Linked DNA regions of Homo sapiens: region 1 is linked to region 2. The links are contacts of gene promoters, found by promoter capture Hi-C in blood cells and fetal thymus (Javierre and others, 2016). All regions are on one chromosome and are shown on one strand. The core of a region is centred on a gene start or on the middle of the fragment in contact, and the rest is flanking DNA. Distances in the headings are between cores, read along the strand shown. Region 1 holds the start of SMARCA5 (SNF2 related chromatin remodeling ATPase 5). Region 2 holds the start of NAA15 (N-alpha-acetyltransferase 15, NatA auxiliary subunit).

The links. Contacts are between HindIII fragments. The CHiCAGO score rates a contact against its expected background, and 5 or more counts as called.
Region 1: a fragment that was not itself captured here is called in contact with the fragment with the promoter of NAA15 in region 2 in 1 of 17 cell types (naive CD4 T cells); the score reaches 6.5 in naive CD4 T cells.

What each region holds. Positions count from the first base shown.
Region 1 is chr4:143,508,820-143,513,868 of GRCh38, reverse strand. It overlaps SMARCA5 (SNF2 related chromatin remodeling ATPase 5), which reads right to left and starts at 167. Exons shown (of 24, transcript NM_003601.4): 1 at 1-167. SMARCA5-AS1 (SMARCA5 antisense RNA 1) reads left to right here. Exons shown (of 2, transcript NR_104027.1): 2 at 1-397. RefSeq lists enhancers at 77-446, 477-546, 577-666, 687-736. The HindIII fragment of the contact is 1,370 bases long and covers 2,763-4,132 here.
Region 2 is chr4:139,298,198-139,303,928 of GRCh38, reverse strand. It overlaps NAA15 (N-alpha-acetyltransferase 15, NatA auxiliary subunit), which reads right to left and starts at 2,424. Exons shown (of 20, transcript NM_057175.5): 1 at 2,098-2,424. The coding sequence starts at 2,151. NDUFC1 (NADH:ubiquinone oxidoreductase subunit C1) reads left to right here and starts at 1,452. Exons shown (of 6, transcript NM_001184989.2): 1 at 1,452-1,513. RefSeq lists enhancers at 2,374-2,433, 2,914-3,033. The HindIII fragment of the contact is 1,328 bases long and covers 1,532-2,859 here.

The DNA.
Region 1 (5,049 bases), core at 2,198-4,697, 4.2 Mb before region 2:
CGGGGAGGCCTAGGCCTGGATGCTACGTCGCAATAAACTGGTGGAGGAGCGAGACTCCCACCCGAGCGCTCCCCTGCGCCGCGCCTCCGCGACGGGCCTGAGCCGGGCCCAGGAGCTGCACACTCCCAAACGTTCTGCTCTTCCGCGGGGCTCTAGGTTCCACCGGCGCTTACCTCACGGCGGGAATCACGTCGACGAGGGTGGGCGGGGCCAGACGGGTCACTGAGGTCAAGGAAGGCCGGCTGATTTAGAGAAGGGCGGAGGGTTGGGGGAAGGGAAAAGGAAAACGAAAGAGAGACTGAGGCTGGGAAAACGCTTCGCCGCCTCCTCCTCTTCCTCTGGAAGATAACATCTATCTCGCCAGCATCCAGGACGACGACCTACGCCACCGACTTTCAACACTCGCGAGATTCCTTATTGGCTCACTGACTGGGTCCTGAGCGCGCATGCGCATACTGCCCTCCTCACCCTTGGCCCGCCCTCTTCCAGATCTCTAGCCGGCTCGGGAGAGAAGAGTGGGCGGGACCTCCAGGGAGCGCTCGGAGGTGTAGGTTTGTGCGCCTGCTGCTTGGCAGGACGCGAGCTCAGTGTTTTAGGCTTTCGTAACGGCTCACGGTTCTCGCTGTGTCTTCTGTGCCTGACAGGGGTTGGCGGCACTACCGGAAAACTTGTCTGGGTTTTGCGCTGCCCATTCAAACTTGGAAGTCTTGTGTCTGGCCCCAAAACTTCTGCCGTATCCGCTTAGAGGCGTGACGCCACAGCCTTGACGACGTTATGGTTACCCCAAGTGAAGTCTCACGGTTTTTTGTTGTTAGAAAAAAAAAAAAAGTCCGTTAGTGTGATTTTTTTCTTTTTTCTTTTTTTTTTTTTTTGCCTTCTCATGTTAGCTGCGTCGGTTATTTCTAAATACCCTCCTTAGGCACAGAGTTAAATGATATTTCTTCTGAATTTATATGCCAAAGTTAAGCAAATAACGTGCACACTACCATGGAAGTGAGAAACACGAATAATCAATATATGGGGAAGATAGGTGGTGCGATGTAATCTTTTCCCCAAGCATCAAACATGAAAATTAAAACGTACATTCTCCTTAAGTGTTAACAAATATTCAGCACTGATTTTGTATACTGCCTTAGGCAGCCTTCAATGCAGCTTAAGGGCCTTGTGCATTCATCGCCTACAAAATTTAAATACATTGTAGTCTGTTTGATAACGAATCTGCATACTACAGTAGATTACCTGCCCAGTACAGGGTCTTTTTTATCTTTTTTTATTCCTCATATTCAGTATTCTCTAAATGTTTGTTGAGTAAAGGAGACACATTTTTCGAGAGTTGAGGTTTGAGCTAACTGGTTATGTTGAATTCCAAACAGAAGGGATCCCCTTTGAATATATAGCCTGCAAATTTTTTAACTAATGGAATGATAATTCTTAAATGGACATCTGGAAAAATGTCCCCACTCCACTAGAAATGCTAGTTCTTAGACTATAAGGAAATGTCTAAGGATATATGCAAAGATGAATACCTACAATGATGTTCATCATAGTCTTCATATATGACTGCAAAAAGCTAACAACAGTAGGCTGAATCCAGTATTAAAAGTTAGGTGTTTAAAACTGTCATACACCCAGAAAATGAACTATTAACCTTTAACAACCATTAATGTAGAATAATGGTTGTTTTGTGTTGTTTTGTTTTCAGACAGTTTCTGTCGCCCAGGCTGCAGTGCGGTGGCATGATCTCAGCTCACTGCAATCTCCAACTCCCAGGTTCAAAGGATTCTCATGACTTAGCCTCCGGAGTAGCTGGAATTACAGGCGTGCACCACCACGCCTGGCTAATTTTTGTATTTTCAGTAGAGACAGGGTTTTGCTGTTTTGGCCAGGCTAGTCTCAAACTCCTGGTCTCAAGTGATCTGCTCGCCTAGGCCTCCTAAAGTGCTGGGGTTACAGGCGTGAGCCACCGCACCTAGCCAAAGAATGTTAATTTATAAAGTGTTAACTGAAAAATTTGGTTTAACAGTTCAAAAATGTAGATAAAAGTTGGAAGCATATTTACAAAAGTATTGAAACTGATCGTTGCTGGTTTTTTGTTTTTGTTTGTTTGTTTGTTTGTTTTTTGACAGTGGCTTGCCCTGTCTCCTAGGCTGCAGTGCAGTGTCACAGTCGTGACTCACTGCAGCCTCAGCCTCCTGGGGTCCAGCAATTCTCCCACCTCAGCCTCCCAAGTAGCTGGGACTACAGGTGCATGCCACCAAGCCCAGCTAATTTTTGTATTTTTTGGGTGTAGACAGGGATCGCCATGTTGCCCATACTGGTCCTGAACAACAATTAGGGCTCAAGCCATCTACCTGCCTCAGTCTCTTAAAGTGATGGGATTACAGGTGACAGCCACTGTGCCAGGCTGCCGAATTTGCCTATTATTGTATTAAGAAAACTTTTTTTAAAAAAATTTCAGCTTTACTGAGGTATAATTCACAAAATTGTATATATTTAAGGCATACAATGTGATGTTTTGATATATAAACACGTTGTGAAATGATTACCGCAATCAAGCTAATAAGCATATACATCACCTCTTATATTTACTGCCTGCCAGCATGGTGAGAACATTTAAGATTTACTCTCAACAAATTTCAACTATGCAAACAGTATTATTAACAATAGTTACCATGCTGTGCATTACATCTCCAGAAATTATTCATCTTGTATAACCAAAACTTTGTATCCTTTGACCAACATCTCCCCATTTTTAGAAAGCTTATTTTTAATTTTAAAAAATGTTCTTTCACCGAAAAAAAATTATGTGGAAGGGTAAGAAAGTGGTGTCTAGGGTGGAACCTGACACATACTTAATAAATACTTGATGAATAATATTTTTATATTTACATTAAATAGACTAAAACATTAATTTAGCATTCGAAATGTTTCTTCACTTTTTATAGTCTTAGGTAGAAATCTTGGGTCTTGGTCTGGAAACCCTAAAGTTATATGTAGGTATATAAATGAAAGGATCTTAAGTCTGATAACTATTTAAGGAAAGCAATAAATAGCAAGGAAAACAATGCACATAAATAAATAAAAATTGCCTCCAAAATGGCGATTGTCTTTTAACATGTGCATTTACATGTGAGTTTCTCATATGATCATATGAAAGCTGTATTAGAATCATTCGGGGGAAAATTATAGAGAAAAGATGGAAACTAGCAAGAGGACACAGAATGCTCGAACTCAGTTATCTAGCATAAGTGACAGAGAAAAAGATTTTTGGCAGAGTTTAGAACCAGAAAGGAAAAGCAGAGAAGAGCTACAGAAAAGACATGAAGCCTAGAAACAGCTACAGGGACATTAGCTGTGTTCCTCAGGCAGATAGCAATACTAATATGGTGGCCAAATCACAAAATCCTGCTAAAAGGCTAAAACTAGCAGCTAGTTGTTGAATTGATCACATAATACAGAATTCATGTGTTGGTAAAAGAGTGGGTTGGGGAGCAGGCAAGCCTAGATTCCAGTGCAGGCTCTGGAACTTAGTAGCTGTGTGAATGCAGACAAGTTATCTAACCTCTTTGAAATCAATTTTCTCATCTTTTTATTATTATATTTTCCTAGCTTTATTTTGAGATAATATTATGATGTCATAAAAATTAAATGAGACAGTATAAGGTACATGATACAGTGCCTGACATATAGTGAGTTCTGGGTTCAAGTGTTAGTCTTATCCTTGAGAATCATAAGCCTAAGGTTTAGAGTCTAGTTGAAAGAAGAGGAACCAAAGAAGGAGGAGGGTAAGGGGTTTGGTAGCAAGAAAACACCAGAAAGGATTAGAGCTTTAGTCGTATTCCCAGCAACAGAATGCTACAGTGTAAAATAATGTTAGTGTTCTATCTCCAATATGTATATACATAGTTTACACCTAAAATTTCCTCTGTTAGATTTAATGTGCTAGAACAGCAAGTACAGTACAGAAATACAATGGAACAAAGAGATGTTGCCAGAGGACAAAAATGTGCCGAAGAGCCAGGGCTCTCTCAGCATTGTGTCCTTGAATGGTAACAGAAAGGAGTTAAAGTTTTCTCAAGGACAAAGAAGAAATGCAACACCTCTCTTCATTGCAACTCATTTTGTCAAAGCTTAAGAAAATAAAGTCTGATTACTGCAAGACAATAAAACTGTATTGAGTTTGTATCTAAGAATGGGTATTTCCAACACCAGATACCAATGATTACATGTTGTATGTATCTTTTTTAGAGTTCTCCCACATAGGTCATTTGTCAATGTACAGAGATTTCAGTTAAAGAGAAACATTAACTGTACTGTTAATAAACAGGTAAGGATATATTCCCTTCATTCCCCTCATATTTAGTCACCAACTAAATAGTGGGAGACTTTGTGTCTGCTCGGTATATATGCATATGTTTATGTAGTCAAAGTTTTTCAGGTTTTCTCTGCATTTCTTCCTGCTCATGAAAAAATAATTTCTTTTTTGTTGGGCTGGTTCTAGGTAAAGTATTTCTAGGAACTCAAATATTATGATCCAAAGTTAAATTTTAACCACCATCTTTGAAACATTTTTGAAATAATAAACTACAAAGCTTCAATTAAGAAATTAGAGTTTTTTTATTTAGTTTTTATCTCATTTATTAAAAGGAACTTCAGACAAAGGAAATTAGGCAGTCTTTTGCTCAAAATATTGAAAGTAAAAAGATGGAAAATATATATCATTAAAACAATAGCAAAAAGAAAACAGGAGTGGCTATATCATTATCAGATAAAGTAGACTTCAGAGCAAAGAAAATTATGAGACAAAGAGGGACATTATATAATGATGAAAGTGTCAACCCAGAAGACATAGCAATTTTAAATGTATATGTACCAAACAACAGAGCTGCAAAATATGTGAAGCAAAAGGTGACAGAACTGAAATTAGAAATAACAAATCCACAATTATATGTGGAGACTACAGCATCTCTCAACAACTGATACTACAACTAGGCAGAAAACCAGCAAGGGTATAGAAGAACTTAACAACAGCCAATAGGATCTAATTGA
Region 2 (5,731 bases), core at 1,175-3,674:
CAAACAAAAAAAAGTGCTAACACTTGAGAAAATCTCCATATGAACCAGATATTAGACAATATTAGAGAATGATTGTTATAAGTATACAAGACGATGTCCTTATTCTTAGGAGATGCTTGCTTAAGTATTTAGAGATGAAGTTTTTTGTTTTTGTTTTGAGACAGTCTTCCTCTGTTGCCAAGGCTGGAACTGCAACCTCCACCTCCCGGGTTCAAGCGATTCTTGTGCCTCAGCCACCCTAGTAGCTGGGACTACAGGCGAACACCACCATGCCTGACTAATTTTTGTATTTTCAGTAGAGACAGGATTTCACTACGTTGGCCAGCCTGGTCTCGAACTCCTGACCTCAAGTGATCCATCTGCCTCAGCCTCCCAAAGTGCTGGGATTACAGGCATGAGACACCGTGCCCAGCCTAGAGATAAATTTTACATCTACAACTTACTTTTATACAAATGTATATATACATATACATAGGGAGAGAGAAAGCATATATGGCAAATAAATATAAGTAAAGGTTTATGAGTGTTCCTTGTTCTCTCAACTTTTCAGTTTCATTTTTTTCAAAATAAAGAATTGTGAAAAAGAGATTAAAGATAAATTGCTATTCTAAACTTATGTTACAGTTCTACCTGCACACCAATTAGTCTTTTTAAGGGTTTAAAAGTAACTTTTTTCCTAAAACTATTTTACAGCTCCACCTACACTCTTAGTCTTAAAACAAAACAAAATTCCAGTAAGAATTTCAAGGTAACAGTTTTGCGACACTGCATGTGACTTTCTAATGTTTTTCAAAATGAATTCACTAAATCTGTAGGGCATATGGACACTTTTGTAAAATCAAAGTTAGTTCAAATGGATGATTATTCATTTCTAGAAAAACTGAATCCCCAGAGTTGTTCTACTTTTCAAACAGGTGAAATAAATTATAACTGCGGGGGAAAAGGCTAACACTTTCACACACACATCCCAAATTTTAAAAGTCTTAAATTTGGCAAATACAGTTAATTCTATCATAAGGAAACGTTTGCGTGAAAGGGGGAACCCACATACTAAATGCCAAACAAAAAATGTGCTACAATGTGTTAATTATAGCTCCAAGGCTACAGGACATATTTTACAATGTAAACAGTCCCTGCAAACATCAATGCATTTATGGTTTAAAAAAATACAAACTGCACACATTTGAACCGTAGGGAATAAGTCTGAGCTAGCGTCAACAAAATCCATCTCAAAAGTTCTTATATTCTCATTTCTCTGGTAAGTTTTTGCATGTGTTAATATACTTCAGTGTATAAGAAAAGTCTAGGTCTGCAACGTTTCAACTAAAGACTCAACTTTTTACTTCCTACCGAACCGCCCCCTCGCAATGGGCCCCACCTCCCGAGAAGAGTGACGGGGTGGGGCTGTTTCCCGCTCGGAAACTAAGAAATAAATGCCTCATCCCTACTCCAGAAACGAGAACAACGGAGGCAGAGGAGCTGAAGACTCCAGTATGCAACTGACTACAAGGAGGTAGTCGTTTGAAAAGCTTTCTTTCCTTCTCTGAACTCCTTCTTTCCCTCCTCTCAGGTCATTGGGTGACCCCGGGCCGGGCGGAGACAGGTGAATCCCAAGAGAGGAGGAAGAGGGAGGGACAGATGATGGAGGGAGAACCGCGTTTAGGCAATGAATGAGCCTGCTGCATCCGCACCACCTGTTCCTTCCAAGGGTGCCACCCCGACCTGCCAGCAGGGTTCCCACACCAACCGGGCCGCGACTCCTGCCGGTGTCGCCCACTTGCCCGCCAAAGGCCGGGCCTCTTCTCCCCCAGATCGGGGAGAATGAGAACCGGCAGTCTAGAAGCCGGGAGGTCGGGGCCTAGTCCGGAACCAGGGCCTCAAGCGTGGGGATGGAATGAAGAAGCCTGTGGTCCCTGGCGCGCGGGCCATAGTAGGAACCACAGAGAGGGAGCAAAGCAATGCATTCGGCCTGACGAGAGCTATGAAGGCGGGGTCCCGGGCGGGAGTGGCTCAGTGCCCGCCGGGCCGAGGTTAGGGGTGACAGGCCCGGTTACCGGCTAAATCCTCCCCACCGCTTGCCCGGAGCCTCACACTTACCAAGATCCGCTTGAAGAGCGCATTCTCCTTGGGCGGGAGGCTCACGGCCGGCATCGTTCCGGCTGCTCCCGCTGCTCCCGCCACCACCCGGCTCGGTCAGTCAGTTTGTCCGACCGCCGCCGCTGCCGTTCCGTAGCTGCTTCAGCCTTGAATATCTCGATCCGCCGCCACCACCAGGCCTCGGGTGTCGCCGCGTTGCCCTACCCGGACACCTCCTTTTTCCTCGTTGTCTTTTTTCCTTTCTCACTTAACGCTGCCGCCGCCTCCCCCACTACGGGTCTCCGTCGGCGGTTCACGTGGTAACTGAACAGACCGACAGAGGCAGCCAAAATGGCGGACGCGGAGGGTTTTCCCACCCGGGTCACGCTTCCTAACACGCAGGCGCGGTGACCTCCTTTCCCCACCTCCTCTGGGTTTCGGAGCTTGCCGGGAAACCTGGAGGCTGGCCTGCCTGTGGAGGCCGGGAGGGTCGGGGCAGGCCCCGCCCATCATTTCAGTGCGTGGTACCCTCGAAGCGCCCGCGGAGCTACGGGAGGCTAGGCAAGTACGGTTCAGACCGCCTCCTCATCAAAAACAGCCTCTCTGGCGCCTTCCTGCTAGATCGACCTTTCATTCCTTGGAAAGAGTCTCGCACACTGTGTGATCATCGTTTGAGCCCAAAGTGCTAAAATACAGGTGTAGGTGTTTGAGAAGCGCTGTAGTTGATTATGGACGAAATGCCTAATTTAAGGAGCAGAGGCGGAGTGGAAAATGAAAAAAGCTTCACCGCAGTGGAGACTTGTTAACAGCCCTGGGGAGAAAGGGGCTTAACAGAGTCTGGAAATCGTGAAAGAGCTTGACCGATGAAATGGGCCTGGCTGTCGTATCGGTAATTTGGTGAATGTTGCTTAAGATCAGCCTGGAAAGGTAGTTAGTCAGATCCGAAGTGACATATTTGCACTGCCAAAGGAGGCTCTGGAGGTTAAAGTATGTGTTTTAATTTCGTTGTTGAGGCCATATAATGCAGAGTTGACGGACCGACCTTATGAGTCACCTTGGAGCGGAGTAGTGGAGACTTAAAGACAGACTACCCTGGAGCTGGCTTCAAACTAGTTCTTAATATTGTGACTCGAACTCCCCATCCCCAGAAATTCTCAGATCTTAGAAGCCAAAGACTGGCAAGGATACTAGAGGGAACTACTCGAGTAGGCGAGGTCAGACTACATACCGAATAGGAGTCCTTCCAAAAATGTAAGTCATTTCATTAACAGCTGACCGTAAAACTTTTTCAAAGTGGCATTCCATTGATCTAAAAATTTTCAAGTTATATGAGCCACTTTTAACCTTTGGTTTTTGATTACCTCTTTCCAAATCCTGATTTCACTCTGTAGCATTCTTTGCATCATGAATTATTAAACAATATGTGCGTGTTTTTTACTGTTTTAAATTTATTTGCAAAGATATTTTAATTTTCAAACTTCTCTTAACTGTCCCTGAAAGGTGTGAGTTGAGATACATGTTTCCCAATATAAACTTGGGTTTTGTAGCTGCTATATTGATTGTCCTCGCCCTTCACCGGGGTCATAAATAAGGTTTTTAACAGTCAAATCCTGGAGTTTCCTTAAATTCTGTGATCTCTCTTCAAAAGTTTGAGAAAAATCATATATACAGGAAACTATGTTTCAGTTTGAAATATGGCCAGTATTTTAACCTTAACTTTATAAAACTAAGAACAAGCTTATAATTCATTTTTAAGCTGTTACTTAGTAATAACCTGCAAAATTCACTGCCCCAAGAGATCTTTCAACTGTCTGAACTATTGAAAGACAGAAAAAATAGTCTAAATGCAGTTGATAGTTTTAGCTTGGATTTCCAAATCTCTGGCTTCATATCCAAATTTCTGGCTTCATATCCAAAAATCCCTACAGCAATACTATTTGCTATAGTTCTCTAAATTTCTCCTGTAAAGAATATTCTATTTTCCTTCAGAGGAAGAAAATTTCTGGTCTTTGAAACAATCAGTAGCTTCCACCAGAACCTGAGTACCTGATTAGATGAGCCAGAAATAGAGTTTGGCAAATGTTACATTCTTTTTGGGTGATGACAAAGAAATGGCAATTTTAAAGGCTCGGCAAATACTAGTCTGATTCAACATTTAACTGATTCATTTGCTAGTTAAAATGCACCTACAGATAACAGTCTGACCACACAGTAGCCTGAATTGAATAAAAAAATATATATTTACTCTGATCACCACAATTTCACAAATAGAGATCCCATTTGAGTTATACTGTAAGTAACAGCCATGCTTTCAGAAAGTTAACATATCCAAGGCTATATGCTGCCGCTGCTGCTGCTGATGATAGTTAATTCATCTTACCCCATGTGCTTGCATGTCACTATGTTCCAAATGCTAACTCTAAAAAATATTAACCAAAAAGAAAGAAATAAAATCATTTACCTTGCAAACTTTAATTCTACAAAAGGGATATGTTGAGTGAAATTTCTCCATATATGTAAGATGTTCTCTATTGAGACTGTTACATCTTATTAAGTACTTGGATCTTATTTAAAAAAAAAAAAAAGGCTGGGCTTGGTGGCTCACACCTGTAATCCCAGCACTTTGGGAGGCTGAGGCGGGCGGATCACAAGGTCAGGAGTTCAAGACCAGCCTGACCAACATGGTGAAACCCCGTCTCTACTAAAAATACAAAAATTAGCCGGGTGTGGTGGTGCGTGCCTGTAACCCCAGCTATCCAGGAGGCTGAGGCAAGACAATCGCTTGAACCTGGGAGGTGGAGGTTGCAGTGAGCCAAGATCGCACCACTGCACTCCAGCCTGGACAACAGAGTGAGACTACATCTCAAAAAAAAAAACATAGGCCAGGCATAATGCCTCATACCTATAATCCCGACACTGGGAGGCTGAGGCAGGAAGATCGCTTGAGCCCAGAAGTTTGAGACCAACCTGGGCAACATAGTGAGACCCTGTCTCTACAAAAAAATTTTAAAATTTGCCAGGTGTGGTGCTGTGAGCCTGTAGTCCCAGCTACTTTGTGGGCTTGGGTGGGAAGATTCCTTCGGCCCCAGAGGTCGAGACTGCAGTGAGCTGTGATGACACCTCTGCTCTCCGGCCTGGGCAACAGAGCTGAGACCTTGTTCCAAAAAAAAAAAAAGAATATAAAAGAAATTCATGTATTTGTCACCTAGATTTAACAAATGTTAACAATTTGCTATTGCTTCTGGGTTTTTTTTGTGTGTGTGTATAGACAGGATTTCTCAATGTTGCCCAGGCTACTCTTGAACTCCTGGGCTTAAGCAATCCACCCACCGCAGCCTCCCAAAGTGCTGGGATTATAGATGTGAGCCCCAACGCCCGGCCTGCTGCTGAATCTTTTTTTTTTTTTTTTTTTTTGAGACAGAGTTTCGCTCTTGTCGCCCAGGCTAGAGTGCAATGGTGCGATCTCAGCTCACCGCAACTCTGCCTCCTGGGTTCAAGCGATTTTCCTGCCTCAGCCTCCCGAGTAGCTGGAATTACAGGCATGCACCACCATGCCCGGCTAATTTTGTATTTTTAGTAGAGACAGGGTTTCTCCATGTTGGTCAGGCTGGTCTTGAACTCCCGACCTCAGGTGATCCGCCCGCCTCGGCCTCCC